5 separate regions of the Homo sapiens genome follow, and all the other regions are linked to region 3. Evidence: promoter capture Hi-C in 16 types of primary human blood cells and fetal thymus (Javierre and others, 2016). All regions are on one chromosome and are shown on one strand. The core of a region is centred on a gene start or on the middle of the fragment in contact, and the rest is flanking DNA. Distances in the headings are between cores, read along the strand shown.

What was found. Contacts are between HindIII fragments. The CHiCAGO score rates a contact against its expected background, and 5 or more counts as called.
Region 1: a fragment that was not itself captured here is called in contact with the fragment with the promoter of ALKBH1 in region 3 in 10 of 17 cell types (monocytes, naive CD8 T cells, activated CD4 T cells and 7 more); the score reaches 19.7 in monocytes.
Region 2: a contact is called between a fragment that was not itself captured here and the fragment with the promoter of ALKBH1 in region 3, in 1 of 17 cell types (monocytes). The highest score is 6.1, in monocytes.
Region 4: a contact is called between a fragment that was not itself captured here and the fragment with the promoter of ALKBH1 in region 3, in 1 of 17 cell types (monocytes). The highest score is 5.5, in monocytes.
Region 5: a fragment that was not itself captured here is called in contact with the fragment with the promoter of ALKBH1 in region 3 in 1 of 17 cell types (total B cells); the score reaches 5.4 in total B cells.

The regions. Positions count from the first base shown.
Region 1 is chr14:77,563,261-77,565,960 of GRCh38, forward strand. The region is part of intron 5 of SPTLC2 (serine palmitoyltransferase long chain base subunit 2); the gene reads right to left. Among named protein-coding and RNA genes, the nearest start is that of SPTLC2, 52 kb to the right of the region's middle. The HindIII fragment of the contact is 3,238 bases long and covers 1-2,700 here.
Region 2 is chr14:77,506,581-77,509,280 of GRCh38, forward strand. SPTLC2 (serine palmitoyltransferase long chain base subunit 2) reads right to left here. Exons shown (of 12, transcript NM_004863.4): 12 at 1-2,700. Among named protein-coding and RNA genes, the nearest start is that of ISM2, 9.1 kb to the left of the region's middle. The HindIII fragment of the contact is 2,530 bases long and covers 101-2,630 here.
Region 3 is chr14:77,706,660-77,709,359 of GRCh38, forward strand. ALKBH1 (alkB homolog 1, histone H2A dioxygenase) reads right to left here and starts at 1,364. Exons shown (of 6, transcript NM_006020.3): 1 at 1,163-1,364. The coding sequence starts at 1,345. SLIRP (SRA stem-loop interacting RNA binding protein) reads left to right here and starts at 1,444. Exons shown (of 4, transcript NM_031210.6): 1 at 1,444-1,549. The coding sequence starts at 1,453. RefSeq lists an enhancer at 998-1,327. The HindIII fragment of the contact is 1,367 bases long and covers 237-1,603 here.
Region 4 is chr14:77,546,014-77,548,713 of GRCh38, forward strand. All of the region lies in intron 9 of SPTLC2 (serine palmitoyltransferase long chain base subunit 2), which reads right to left. It also overlaps the pseudogene RN7SL587P. Among named protein-coding and RNA genes, the nearest start is that of ISM2, 49 kb to the left of the region's middle. The HindIII fragment of the contact is 4,311 bases long and covers 1-2,700 here.
Region 5 is chr14:77,488,571-77,491,270 of GRCh38, forward strand. All of the region lies in intron 1 of ISM2 (isthmin 2), which reads right to left. Among named protein-coding and RNA genes, the nearest start is that of ISM2, 8.9 kb to the right of the region's middle. RefSeq lists enhancers at 2,088-2,589, 2,590-2,700. The HindIII fragment of the contact is 1,873 bases long and covers 357-2,229 here.

The DNA.
Region 1 (2,700 bases), core at 125-2,624, 140 kb before region 3:
AAGATACAAAGACACACAGTCATCCCTCAGTCTACAGGAGGACTTGGTTCCAGAACTGCCTCACCCTCACATTTATCCAAATCCATCCATGCTCATGTCCTGCAGTTGGCCCTGTGGGACCTGCAGGCCCTCCATATACTTGGGTTTTGTGTTCCATGAATACTATATTGTGTGTATGTGTGTGTGTGAGATGGAGTCTTGCTCTTGTTGCTGGAGTGCAGTGGTGCGATCTTGGTTCACTTGCAACCTCTGCCTCCCAGATTCAAGCGATTCTCCTGCCTCAGCGTCCCAGCTAGCTGGGATTACAGGAGCCCACCACCAGGCCCAGCTAATATTTGTATTTTTAGTAGAGATGGGGTTTCACCATGTTGGCCAGGCTGGTCTTGAACCCCTGACCTCAGGTGATCCACCCGCCTCAGCGTCCCGAAGTGCCAAGATTACAGGTGTGAGACACTGTGCCTGGCTGAAAACTGTATTTCTGCTCCATATTTGGTTGAAAAAAATCCACGTGTAAGTGGACCTGCATGGTTCAAACCATGTTGTTCAAGGGTCAACTATATATATACATGCTTATTTATTACAGAATATTCTTAAAGGAATACTTAAGAAACTTGTAACAGTAGTTGTGTTTGAAATTTTTATTATGCACATAGTATTTATTAAGATAAAAAAGCTACCTGGTTAAAAATGTACAGATTAAAAATGAAGTGGCCAGGCATGGTGGCTCATGCCTGTAATCCTGGCAATTTGGGAGGCCAAGGTGGGTGGATCACTTGAGGTCAGGAGTTCGAGACCAGCCTGGCCAACATGGCAAAACCCCATCTCTACTAAAAAGAAAACACAAAAAAATTAGCTGGGCGTGGTGGCAGGCGCCTCAAATCTCTGCTACACAAAAGGCTGAGGCAGTGAGGCAGTGAGCCGAAATTGTGCTGCTGCACTCCAGCCTGGGCAACAGAGGGAGACTCTGTCTGGGGGGAAAAAAAAAAAAAAAAGGAGGAGGAGGAGGAAGAGGAGGAAGAGGAGGAAAAGGAGGAAGAGGAGGAGAAGGAGGAGAAGGAGAAGAAGGAGAATAAGGAAAAGGAGAAGACTAGAGCCGGCAGTATCAATAGACTCCTGGCTTTCAAATCTTTATGCATGCATACACACACACACACACACACACACACACACACACACACACACACACACACAGATGTGTGTGTATGCATGAGTTCGCATATATACATACATTTTCTAGCTCTAGTCACTGAGAGGTGAGAAGCAGTGATACTCCTTCAGCAATAAACACACCTAGTTCCCAGACCTTGGTTTCTAAATATCATTCTCCAAAAAAAAGAACCAGCACTTCTTGGAGAACTGGTTAATTCCAAAACTGGGATAGGGAAAATATAAGATGATCCTGGAGCATTTTATCATGCCAGAAAGTATAAGAATGCTTTAAAAAAAAAAAGTTATTATATATTCAAAGGACACAGGTACCCACCTGAAGCAGCTCCCAATGGCCAAAACTAAAACTCGAGCAACAAAAAAGAAGCAATTGTGTTGAATTATAAGCCAAATAATAAAAATATTCACAAACCCACAACGACAGAAATAAATAAGGGAGAAGCAAGAACTCTTCCTTACACAAAAATTCTAATTAGTAAGTATAGAAAGAATGAGAAAAATAGAAAAATCACCATTAGAACACCAAGGTAAGCCGGGTGCGGTGGCTCACGCCTGTAATCCCAGCACTTTGGGAGGCTGAGGTGGCTGGATCACCTGAGGTCAGGAGTTTGAGACCAGCCTGGCCAACGTGGTGAAACCCCATCTCTACTAAGAAATACAAAAAATTAGCCGGGCATGGTGGTGGGTGCCTGTAATCCCAGCTACTCAGGAGGCTGAGGCAGGAGAATTGCTTGAACCCAGGAAGCAGAGGTTGCAATGAGCTGAGATGGCGCCACTGCACTCCAGCCAGGGCAACAAGAGCAAAACTCCATCTCAAAAAAAAAAAAAAAAAAAAAAAAAAGAACACCAAGGTAATAACTGCCACAGGCAAGATCACAGATGCATACTAAAGTTAGTGGGTGAAAGTTTAATCCAAAATGCTATATACAGTCCCAAAGTATCTCTGCCACAATATATGGTGATTACAAAGAGAAAAGCAGTAAGTTGGTAGTAGAAAATCCCCGCTGACACCTGAGACAAGCGATTAAGATTTACATCATCAGTAATATGTATCAAAACCACATAGTCTCTCGCATGATTCACTGAGAATGGTATCACTTCTGTGGTAGCTTTCTCAATAACGCACGGACTCAATCAAACCATAACAACACAACAGACAGACCCAAATTGGAGACATTCTACAAAATAAGGGACCAGTACCCTTCAGAAGTATTAAGGTCATGAAAGACAAAGAAAAACAGGAACTATCCCAGATTGGAGGAGACTGAGGAGCTACAACAGCTAAAGACAATGTGGATCCTCACCTGGATCCTGAAGCGGAAAAACTGGTGAAAACCAAATACGTCCTGTACTTTAGTTATAGTATTGTGTCACAGTTAATTTCTTAGCTGTAAGAAACAGTTCCACTGTTATGCAAGATGTTAACATAAAGGGAAGCTGAATGAATGGTATACAGGAACTCTCTGTACTCTTTTGTAACTCTTTTTGTAAGTCTAAATTAAAGTTTCAAAAAAGTGTTAAAATTGAAAAAGC
Region 2 (2,700 bases), core at 116-2,615, 200 kb before region 3:
CACTGAGGTAACAAGACTTAATGTTAAGGGTAAAGACACCACGCCACCCTAGTCAGTGACATGTACTCCACTTTCCAGGAAGACCTGGGCCAAATGACCAAGCTTTGCAAAAGAAACCTGGGAAGAGCGTTGGAAAAAGCAGACTCTGAGTTGGCTTGAGTCTCCTCGTGCATAGAAGCATTCACTCATCCATGCAGATGGCAACAAGGCAGGACACTCAGAAAGCATAAGATCAAGGTACTGCTCTTATCTGCACCTTTCATTCAAGCTCCCCTCAAGTGCTCCAAAAGAACAGAGCTTTGGGTATTGCTTCATTAAGAACACAGTAACTGCAGTTTAAAAGCCATTGCATTCTTTAGGGTCAGTTTATTATAACTTATCCTACCAGAAAGAATCACAGTTTAAGGCCATTTATCATGTGCACTATGTAGTAAACAAAACCTTGTCCCCAGCTCCACCAAGCCACTCCCAAGGGTGGACTGTGAATGTGACACTTCCAGACTCACCAGAGATTAGAAAAAACATTTCTATTAGGGTCTTAACCTAGCCCCTTTGGTTTCCTCCCTAGAAAAGAGCTGCTTAGAAAACAGATGTCACTGGAAATGACAAAAGGAACAACAGTATTTTCTATACATTAAAAGCAAAGGGATCATTGGCTAGCACTAGCATTTATTCTGTGTGATAGGGAAGCCAGCCCTCTAATTTGGCTCTCTGGCTGGGCACATGGCAATGGCTAGGGGCCTGGGCACACCTTTTTTTTTTTTTTTTGAGACAGAGTCTCCCTCTGTCGCCAAGGCTGGAGTGCAGTGGTGTGATCTTGGCTCATTGCATCCTCTGCCTCTTGGGTTCAAGCAATTCCTGTGCCTCAGCCTCCTGACGTAGCTGGGATTACAGGCATGTGCCACCATGCCCGGCTAATTTTTGTAATTTTAGTAGAGATGAGGTTTCGCCATGTTGGCCAGACTGTTCTCGAACTCCTGGCCTCAAGCAATCTGCCTGCTTCAGCCTCCCAAAGTGTTGGGATTACAGGTGAGCCACTGCGCCCAGCCATGGGCACATATTTCATGTGGATAAAGTTGAGGCGAGAAAAAGACATGTTTTTCTCCACATGGAAGGTATTTTTTAAACTGGTTTAATGTATTAAGATGGCTGCTGGGCACTGAGCATCCACGTGAAGCAAGTAGCAGGGTATCTGTAGGTTCTGGGACTGAAAAAAAAAATCCCTGTAAGTTCTTGGCTTAGTAGCCAAAAAATAATCTTTGCTTTTTATACCTCCCCATTCACAACCCCTTTGGGCTAAGCTGATTTAAAAAACATTTTTTTCTTAGATGGGGTCTTGCTGTGTTGCCCAGGCTACGCTCAAATTCTTGGGTTTAAGCAATCCTCCGGCCTCAGCCTCTCAAGTAGCTGGGATTGCAGGCTGCATCCGCACCCAGCTCCTAACAATTTTTTTTCCCCCTCTTATTGAGCCAGGGTCTCACTCTGTCACCCAGGCTGGAGTGCAGGGGTGCAATCATGGCTCACTGCAGCCTTGACCTCCCAGGCTCAAGTGATTCTCCCACACAGGTGGGACTACAGGCAGGCACCACCATGCCCGGTTAATTTAGAAAAAAATTTTTGTAGAGACAGGGTCTATCTTGCCCTGGCTGTCCTAACAATTCATAATCTTCATGAATGTGGACAGTTTGAAGGAAAACCACTACTCTCACCTCTTTTTCTAAGCACACGGTTATAGCAAGTAGAGATTAAAGCTCATTGGCTTACCTAGAACACCAAGAGAGGAAAGATACCTTGGGAATTAGGTCATAGCAATGCTTCAAACAACAACTGCCCATAACCCTACAAATCCTTGCAAAACAACAGTTACTCACATTCTTTCTTCACGGCCTACGGCATGACTGGCAGTTCTGCACTGTTGCCCAATCCCGGATCACTAGGAACCAGAAATCCTTATCAATTTGGAAAAAGGGGAAAAACATAAAAGTAGTGGTAAATGTCATCACTTTTTTCCTCCCTGAGAAATCAGGAAATCTCTCCATGGAAGCCACTCATCCCCCTGGTTTTCACCAATAAGAAGGAAGCAAAGTGTATAACACACTAGAAAATTCAGCTAGGCTGAACTAGTTGAGAAATTTAGATGCAGGCTCCCTTAGGTAATGAAGAAATTTGAAAAAAAATTTTTTTTAAAAGCCAAAGGAGCTAGCTTAAGCCCCTAATGAAAAGCCTCCTCCTGAAATGTAAGGCTAAGTGTACAAACAGAACCAAGGCGTCTGATATGCTATCTTCAAAGCCCAGCACCACCATATATTGGTTTTCTCTAGAGTTGGAATTTTAAAAATCAAGAACTTGAAGGTACAGAAAGAAAGAAAGGCCAAATAAAGGAAGAAGGCATTACGGAGACAAATCACTGGAAGCATGTTCAACTCCTTGGTGTTTGAAGAGGCATGACACAAACATAGAGCCCTTAGTGGTTGTGTAGGATGCTTCTGTTCACCTTGATGACTACAGAAGCAAGAATCCTGTTTTAAAATCCTTGCCCTATCATGAATGTTTACGATAGTGACTAAAGCACTACGATGGCTGGATTCTTCAAACAAATAAGCAGTACTTTGGGGGTTATGGAGACTAGAAGCTTTTTTTAAAGGTAAGGATTTCTTATCCAAAGCAAAGCAAAAAGTTGAAAAAGTGCTATAAAGTCCA
Region 3 (2,700 bases), core at 114-2,613:
ATTCTAAAAAGCATGTACATATTATGGTAAAATGTAGGTAAAAGGAGCTGAATGAGAGTCTGAAGCGCTCTGGAGAGAAAAAGTATATTATTATTGGGGTGTGGACTTTCTGTATTTTGACAACTCTAAGACCACTTTTTTTCCCTAACAAATGAAGGTGCTGAAAAGCTGAGCTCAAGTATGCAATCATTAACACTTAATACTGTAGCATCCCAATTTTATCAGAGCTGTTAGGAAGCTTGGAAAGAATGCCTCATCTAGACATCTGTGGACAACACCAAGAGCAAATTAAGGGACTGCATATCCTCAACGTTAAAGTGGATTGTAAAGAAAGAAAATATAAATTGGACTACAGTTTTGGTTCCCCGTTTTCCCTCTTGCCTGTTATGTTCCCTTAAAAAAATAATTTTTAAAAAATCTATTTACTTGAGAACAGGTTATGAGACTGGCTAATTTTTTGTATTTTTGGCGGAAACGGGGGTCTTGCCATGCCCCAGGCTGGTCTCGAACCCCTGGGTTCAAGCGATCCACCCGCCTCGGCCTCCGAAGTGCGGGATTACAGGCTTGAGCCACCGCTCCCGGACTGTGTTCCCCTTCTTAATCTCCATGGGGAAAAGCTGAGAGAGAGAACGGTGCCTGTATTCCATATATACTTGTTTGCCATTTATTTTCAACACGGAGGGATTCTCAGAATCCTTCAATGACCTCCTTCTAAAAGAGCCAGAGGAGAAGACAGGGACTAGTTTTACGCACAGTGGCTTAACAAACAGCGCCGCATCCCTGTCAGTTCTGGGATTCCTCGGGAGTGGTTTTTTTTAAGCTGCAGAAGTCTACCCTACCGTCTACAAAGACGTTCTATGGGGTTTTACAAAAACCCAAACAGAAATGTGAGGAGACAGTTACAGTAAGAAATAAACACGGATTCCCAGGCTCTTTTGACTGAGCGCCCCCGCCAGGAATGGCCGCCTAAAGAAACAGGCATCTCAACGCTTTATTGCTAAGTGTGACGGTTAGTGGGGAGTTCGACTCTGCAGCCAAAGGAGGTCAGGAATCGTTCAATAACAATCGGTCTGGAGGTGAAAAGAGGCGAAGAAGACACGTAAGTCCCTCCAAGACGCGGGGCAAAGCGATGGAGAGACGCGCGCCACTCCTCTCTCTGTACCTTTTGGGCACCAGGACCCTTGCCACGGGCTGCGTGGGCCGCCGAGAAGTCGATGACCCCTTCCAGGTCTGCGGTCCCGGGCCGGCTCTGACGGTAGAAGCGGAAAAGTTTCCGAAAGGCGTCCTCCCCGGGCTCAGTCGCCAGAGTCGCCACAGAGCCCACGGCCGCTGCCATCTTCCCCATCTCGCGGCCTATACCCTCTGATCCGGAAGCAGATTCTCTCGTGTTCCGGATCCGGAAATTTTTTCCGGGGCCGCGACCTCGGCTCGAGAAGGTGCTTTAGTCTGAAGATGGCGGCCTCAGCAGCGAGAGGTGCTGCGGCGCTGCGTAGAAGTATCAATCAGCCGGTTGCTTTTGTGAGAAGAATTCCTTGGACTGCGGCGTCGAGTGAGTGATGGAGATGTGGGAGTAGTGGAATTTTTAGGTCCAAGTGATCCTCAAAGCTTCTGCTTTTTGCAGGGTACTTAAGTCAGCGTGGTGGCTGAATTAGGAGACTGCTCCTGAGCATGCAAGTGAGCAGAAAGAAATTTTGTTTGCAGTTAACCGTTTAGGGATGTCCCTTGAGCTTTTGGGGTCACGAATGCACCGGCTCTTGCCTTTAGGAGTGATTTGGTGTAAAGATTTATTACTTGGTAACCAAGATTTACAATTTAGAAGGGATAATTTTGACTGTAGTGTGGAGGATGGATTCAAGGTGGCAAGATTGTAGGCGTGCAGAGGAGCTAAAAGGCAATTTCATTAATTTACTTAAAACGTGAGGACCTGAATTAGGGCGATGGTAGAAGGATGGTGGTCAGATGCATTAATGTTTTAAAAGCAAATTAGATGCCGTTTCGTGATGGCTTAAGTGGGAGAAGTGTACGGAATAAAGGAAAGGGAGAAATGATTTCTGGGTTTTTAGCATTGGTGAATTGTTTGTTTAGAAGTTAGGAGCAGGCCAAGAGAAGATGAGTAAAGTTTGAATGTGTTGACTTTGAGAAACTTGTGAGGTTTCCGTCAGGCAATTGGACAAAGGTTGTATATCATTGTGGCTGAGAAGTGGACTCCGAAGCTAGACCGTTGGGGTTAGAATTCCAACTTGGCCATTTAATCGTTGTTATCACTTGAATAACTGAAGTTAGTATGGGAAAAGGGCTCACAACTGGGCCTCAGTTTACTCATCGATAAAATGGAGTCAATAATACCCAACTCATAGGATTGTTGAGAGGATTGAGTTTATATGCAAACTTCTTAGACTTGTGTTAGATACAGTGTAAGTACTCAGCAAATGATAGTTATTTTCACGGTAACTAAAATTGAAACTTACGGGAGAGGCCTAGTCTACAGATAAAGGTTGGAATAATTAGTTCTGAAATCTTTCACCACCTTCAATTTTTGTCAGCTGCAGTTTTGAGATGAGGTTTTTATATTTGCTTACCAACATGTAAACATTCGTGGTCACTCTTTTTGTAGATATTCATGTTTCAGGTCAACCCCTGGAAACAAAATGGAGCAAGATTTAGTTTCTTCTAAGTTTTTAGTGGCTCAGATGTGAGTAG
Region 4 (2,700 bases), core at 121-2,620, 160 kb before region 3:
CCAAAAGAGCTTTCATTTGTTGGGCTGATTACTCACAATTAAACTTTGGAAAATTAGCAGAAAATTAGAAACAGATTATAAAATAGTCTGTTTTAATAAAATGCTAACTATCATCATGCAACCTCAGAAGTAGAAGCAGATGGAGTTAGAAAAGCTACATTCTAGTTGGAGACAAGATATTGAGAAAACTTGTTCCATACATGAGCTCAAATTTCTCCACCTGTAAGGTGGTCATATTGCTTGCTGATTTCAGAAGGCTTAAGCCATTGGTTAAAAGGCCTTTTGTGCTCAATAATCAAGAAGCTGCTTTAAAAAATAATCAAGAAGCTGCTTTGATTGCTGATAATTTACTAGAGTGACAGTATCCACAGAAAAATTTCATTTATATAGAAAGTTATTATATAAGAAATCTAAAATATGAGTTTGCTTCAAAAACTTAGCTGGTTTAAGGAAGTTTAAGGTTTTAGGGGAGTGGGAGTGAGTGAAGGAGGAGGTTGTAGAAGAGAATGGAGGAGGAAATTGAGAAAAGACAAGCTGAACAAAGGAAGAATTTATCTGTGCCTCTGAGACTAGTTCTTCCCGGGAATCTTACCCCTACCACTGGACTGTTTTTTCAAAGGCAAAGATCACCTATTGTTCAACTCTGCATCTCCCACACAGCATATCTACCACTATGTAGAGAGTAGTTGCTTGTTGCTTGATAAGTGTTTAACAAATGGTAAAACACTTTTTTTTTTTGGAGATGGAGTTTCGCTCTTGTTGCCCAGGTTGGAGTGTAATGGCGCGATCTCAGCTCACCGCAACCTCCTGTGTTCAAGCAATTCTCCTGCCTCAGCCTCCCAAGTAGCTGAGATTACAGGCATGCGCCACCACGCCCAGCTAATTTTCGTATTTTTATTAGAGACAGGGCTTCTCCATGTTGGTCAGGCTAGTCTTGAATTCCCGACCTCAGGTGATCCGCCTGCCTTGGCCTCCCAAAGTGCTGGGATTACAGGCATGCGCCACCACACCCAGCTAATTTTCATATTTTTATTAGAGACAGGGTTTCTCCATGTTGGTCAGACTGGTCTTGAATTCCCGACCTCAGGTGATCCGCCTGCCTCGGCCTCCCAAAGTGCTGGGATTACAGGTGTGAGCCATCGCACCCGGCGGAAACAAGTATTTTTTTTTTTTTTTCCAAACAACAGCATTCTAGGCAGAAAGTCACAAAACAGGAGGAAGCGAGTCTGATTCCCAGCATCAGATAAACTGCTAAACTCTACTGTGGGTAAGAACAAAACTGTGCTTACCAGAAAACTTAATTTTTATTTCGATGAATTTCTAATAGTGAAATAAATTACTTTAAAGCACAACAAAGAAGAAAGTCAACACCCAAACGTTCTTGGGCTCAGGAAGTATGGTGCTTGACGGGAGGGTTAAAAGCTGTCAGCCCTGAAGACAGGCAGGAAAGTCTCTCTTTATGACCCCCTCCCAGCAAGGCTGTGTTTTTTCAACACTTCTAACCCTTCTGCATGGGAATCTTGGAATGTTTTTTTGTTTTGTTTTGTTTTAAAGAGACAAGGTCTCGCTATGTTGCCCAGGCTGGAGTGCAGTGGCTATTCACAGGCGTAATCCCACTACTGATCAGCAGGGGAAGTTTTAACCTGTTCGTTTCCAACCTGGGCCAATTCACCCCTCCTTAGGCAACCTGGTGGTCCCCTACTTCTGGGAGGTCATCATACTGATGGCTGAACTTGGTGCAGACACGTCTCTGGCACAGTGTGCTACAGCCCAGGACTCTTGGGCTCAAGCGATCCTCGTGCCTCAGCCTCCTGAGTAGCTGGGACTCCAGGCATGTGCCACTGCATTGTCCTGGAATGTCTTTTTTTTTTTTTTTTTTTTTTTTTTTAAGTGTCTCAGTTCTCTTAGTTTTTGACAGTTCCCCGGTATTCTCAAGGTGATCATTTAACACCTAATTAACAAGTCTATTACTGGAATTAATTCAAATGAGCCAAACCTAGTTTTAATTAAACCTCAATCTGCTCAGGGTAGTCTTTTTTCTCCTACATCAGTAGCTGCCTGCAAGGACCCAGTTCCTTTCAAAACAAAGAAGTACAAAACTCTATAAAGCGTTCTGACATTATTTAAAAATGTATCTATTAAAATGTACCTATCTAGTTAATTTGGTTCCATAATTTGGTCATTCTGGCTTAACATTCAACTATTCAAGCAATGTTACAATAAAGTACTTGAAGAACCCACTGATTTTCTGGTATTGCCAATCATGCGTGCATTCATTCAGTCATTCAATAAATTTACTGAAAGGATCCTAGATGTCACACACTAAGCTGGGTGCTATGCATGTTATTATTAACTACACCTTTGGACAGAAATAAAATACATCAAAGCACAGCTCTGGAAAATGGAAAAGCAAAATTTTAGTTGATTTGGTCAAACACTTTGCCTTGATTCGTATGTAGATACTACAGCTAAATTTCCATTAGTGGACACGGATTAGTGATGTGTAAAGTAAAAGTTAGAATTTCAAATGTCTAGTGGAATTTAACAGAATTTCCTAGGCCTCATTTTTTCTACTCCCTGGCCTGTGCTCAGTATTCCCACTCCAGGTACAGGCATCCTGGCAGCACAATTCCCATTCATTATTATCTCACCTGAGATCCTAGTGAAGTTGCCTTTCAAGATCTGTCAACCTAGTCATAT
Region 5 (2,700 bases), core at 43-2,542, 220 kb before region 3:
CCTCCGGCAGGTTACTTAATCTGCCTTAGTTCCTTCCTCTGTAATTTAGGGAAACACCAGCGCCTGTCTCATAGGGTTGTTGAATTAGAATAGTACCTTGTAGGTGCTAAGCATGCAATGAACGTTACCCAGAGGTGGCGACAGATGGTACTCAGAAGGCAGACAGAGGAGCCATCAGGGGCACCCCCCTCGCCAGGCAACATGCCAGTTCTTCACACCTCATTCAGGTCCCCCGAACACTGCTGCAAAATCACTCGGCAGGTGTATCCTCATGGCATTCTGAGGGGAATTCTGAGACTCCAGGTTGTTGAAGAACTCCAGTCCTGTCTCACAAGACCACCTCTCTCCATCTTCTAAGCTTACATGTGGAGTTGCATGCATGTACAAACACACAAGGCCATTCTTTTGGGGGGTGGTGTCACTGCCCAAATAGAGATACATCTGAGGTATATCTTTACCAGTTCTCTCTCTCTCTCACCCCTATGCTTACCTTCCCAGGCTTGGCCGGGCAGCCCCTGACCCACGTGTTTCCAGTTAACACAACAGAGTCCCAATCCCCACAGACCCTTACTGCATTGCGTGAGCCCGCCTGCTAACCTGTTTCAGCCCCTTCACAGTTCCCTGTTCTCCCTTCTCCTTTGTGCCTCAGGGGTCAGAAACTTGTTCTGGATAATTAAATTCAGTCACCAAGTGCAGGTCCCGCAGCCCTAGCTCCTGAAGCCCAGGCCCAACCACACAGAGCCAGGCTGCACACTAAGTCATGCTGGTGGGAGGTGCTGGAGACCCAGCACACAACAGCAATTGCCTCTTTAGCCAGGCCTGAGACCCTGCATACAACACAGCAATTGCCTCTTTAGCCGGGCCTGAGACCCTGCCTACAATAGCAATTGACTCTTTAGTCAGGCCTCTTTAGCCACAGGCAGAGGAATAGGGCTGGATTTCATTCTCCCTCAACTACCTTCCTGATTGGTAAGTACTATTCTTTTTTTTTAAGACTGGGTCTTGCTATGTTGCCCAGACTGGCCTCGATATTCCTGGGCTCAAATAATCCTCCCACCTCAGCCTCCTGAGTAGCTGGGATTAGGTATGTACTATTCTAAGCCAACCCACCCTGGCACCCAGCGGAGGCTGCAAAGCTCCTCACTGTAATAAGAGTAGTGCTGACCAAGCATAGTGCTCCCCGCACAGGGCCGGCTTCATGGTGTGCAACCTGTGTCTTTGCACTGAGCCCCATATTTAGTTTAACGCTCTGCTGTTGCCCTTTGGAAATAGCTAAGAAGCCTCATATTTTCTTTTTTTATTTTAGTTTTTGAGATGGAGTCTTGCTCTGTCGCCCAGGCTGGAGTGCAGTGGCACGATCTTGGCTCACTGCAAGCTAAGCCTCCCGGGTTCACGCTATTCTCCTGCCTCAGCCTCCCAATTAGCTGGGACTACAGGCGCCCGCCACCATGCCCAGCTAATTTTTTGTATTTTTAATAGAGATGGGGTTTCACCGTGTTAGCCAGGATGGTCTCAATCTCCTGACTTCGTGATCCGCCCTCCTCGGCCTCCCAAAGTGCTGGGATTACAGGCGTGAGCCACCACGCCCGGCTAATTTTTTGTATTTTTAGTAGAGATGGGGTTTCACCATGTTAGCCAGGATGGTCTCAATCTCTTGACTTCGTGATCCGCCCGCCTCGGCCTCCCAAAGTGCTGGGATTACAGGCGTGAGCCACTGCACCCGGCCAAGAAGCCCAACATTTTCATTCTGCACTGGGCCCCACAAAAAATGTGGCCAGTTGGCTTTCCCAGGTAAAGGCAATAAAAAAAGAAAGAAAAAGAACGGAGCCAGTCTTGCCGATCACCCTATATGTACAGACTCACTGGATTCTCACAACAACACTTTAGGTAGGTGTGAGCATCATCTTCACTTCATAGACAATGCAGCCAAGGATCAGAGAGGTAACGTAACTTGCCTGGAGTCACACAGCTAGGGGCTGGCAGAGTGGGATTTGATGTCAGTGGTATGGCTGGAGTTTGTGCTCTTAAGCCTTGTGCTTTGCTAACTCCAGGCAGTGGCTGCACCTTCTGGTTTGCCGCCTGCTGCTCTGCGGTGCTGAATGTGCTGGATGAACAAAACACTATACAGGATGTTCAACTCTCCACGTCCATCCTTCCCTTTGATCCTCGTAACAACCTGAGACTGAGATCGGAGAGGCTGGAGACTTGCCTGAGGCCTCTGGGCAGCCAAGCTTCCAGGCCTCATTCCTGTCCTTCTCTCTCTCCCTCCCTGGGGGCTTTTCCAACCCTTTAGAGACTGAATGGTCTGGAGGGATAAGGAAGGCCATAGCTGAGGTCCAGGAAGGTGGCCAGCTGCAGGAGAAGGCTAGCAGGTGAGGCCACAGGCTTGGCACCACACAGACCTAGGTTCTAGTTCTCCCCTGGCACTCACTCACTGATTGGGCTAGAAAGACCCCACAACCAGATAAAATCAGCCTTTAGGAAATACATCCTTCTCATTGCCACCCACCTGGCAGGTGAGACCTTGCAAATCTCCGGCAATCCAGCCCCTGCTTCCAGGCAACTGGCTGGACAATGGACCGGGACTGAAGTGCTGGGGGGGCACCCCCACCATGTTCATGACACTGCCTCAGGTTTCTCAGGGACCCCAGGCTCCTTCCTCTGCCCTTTGTTCTGTCTCAGCCTATACCCTCAACAAGC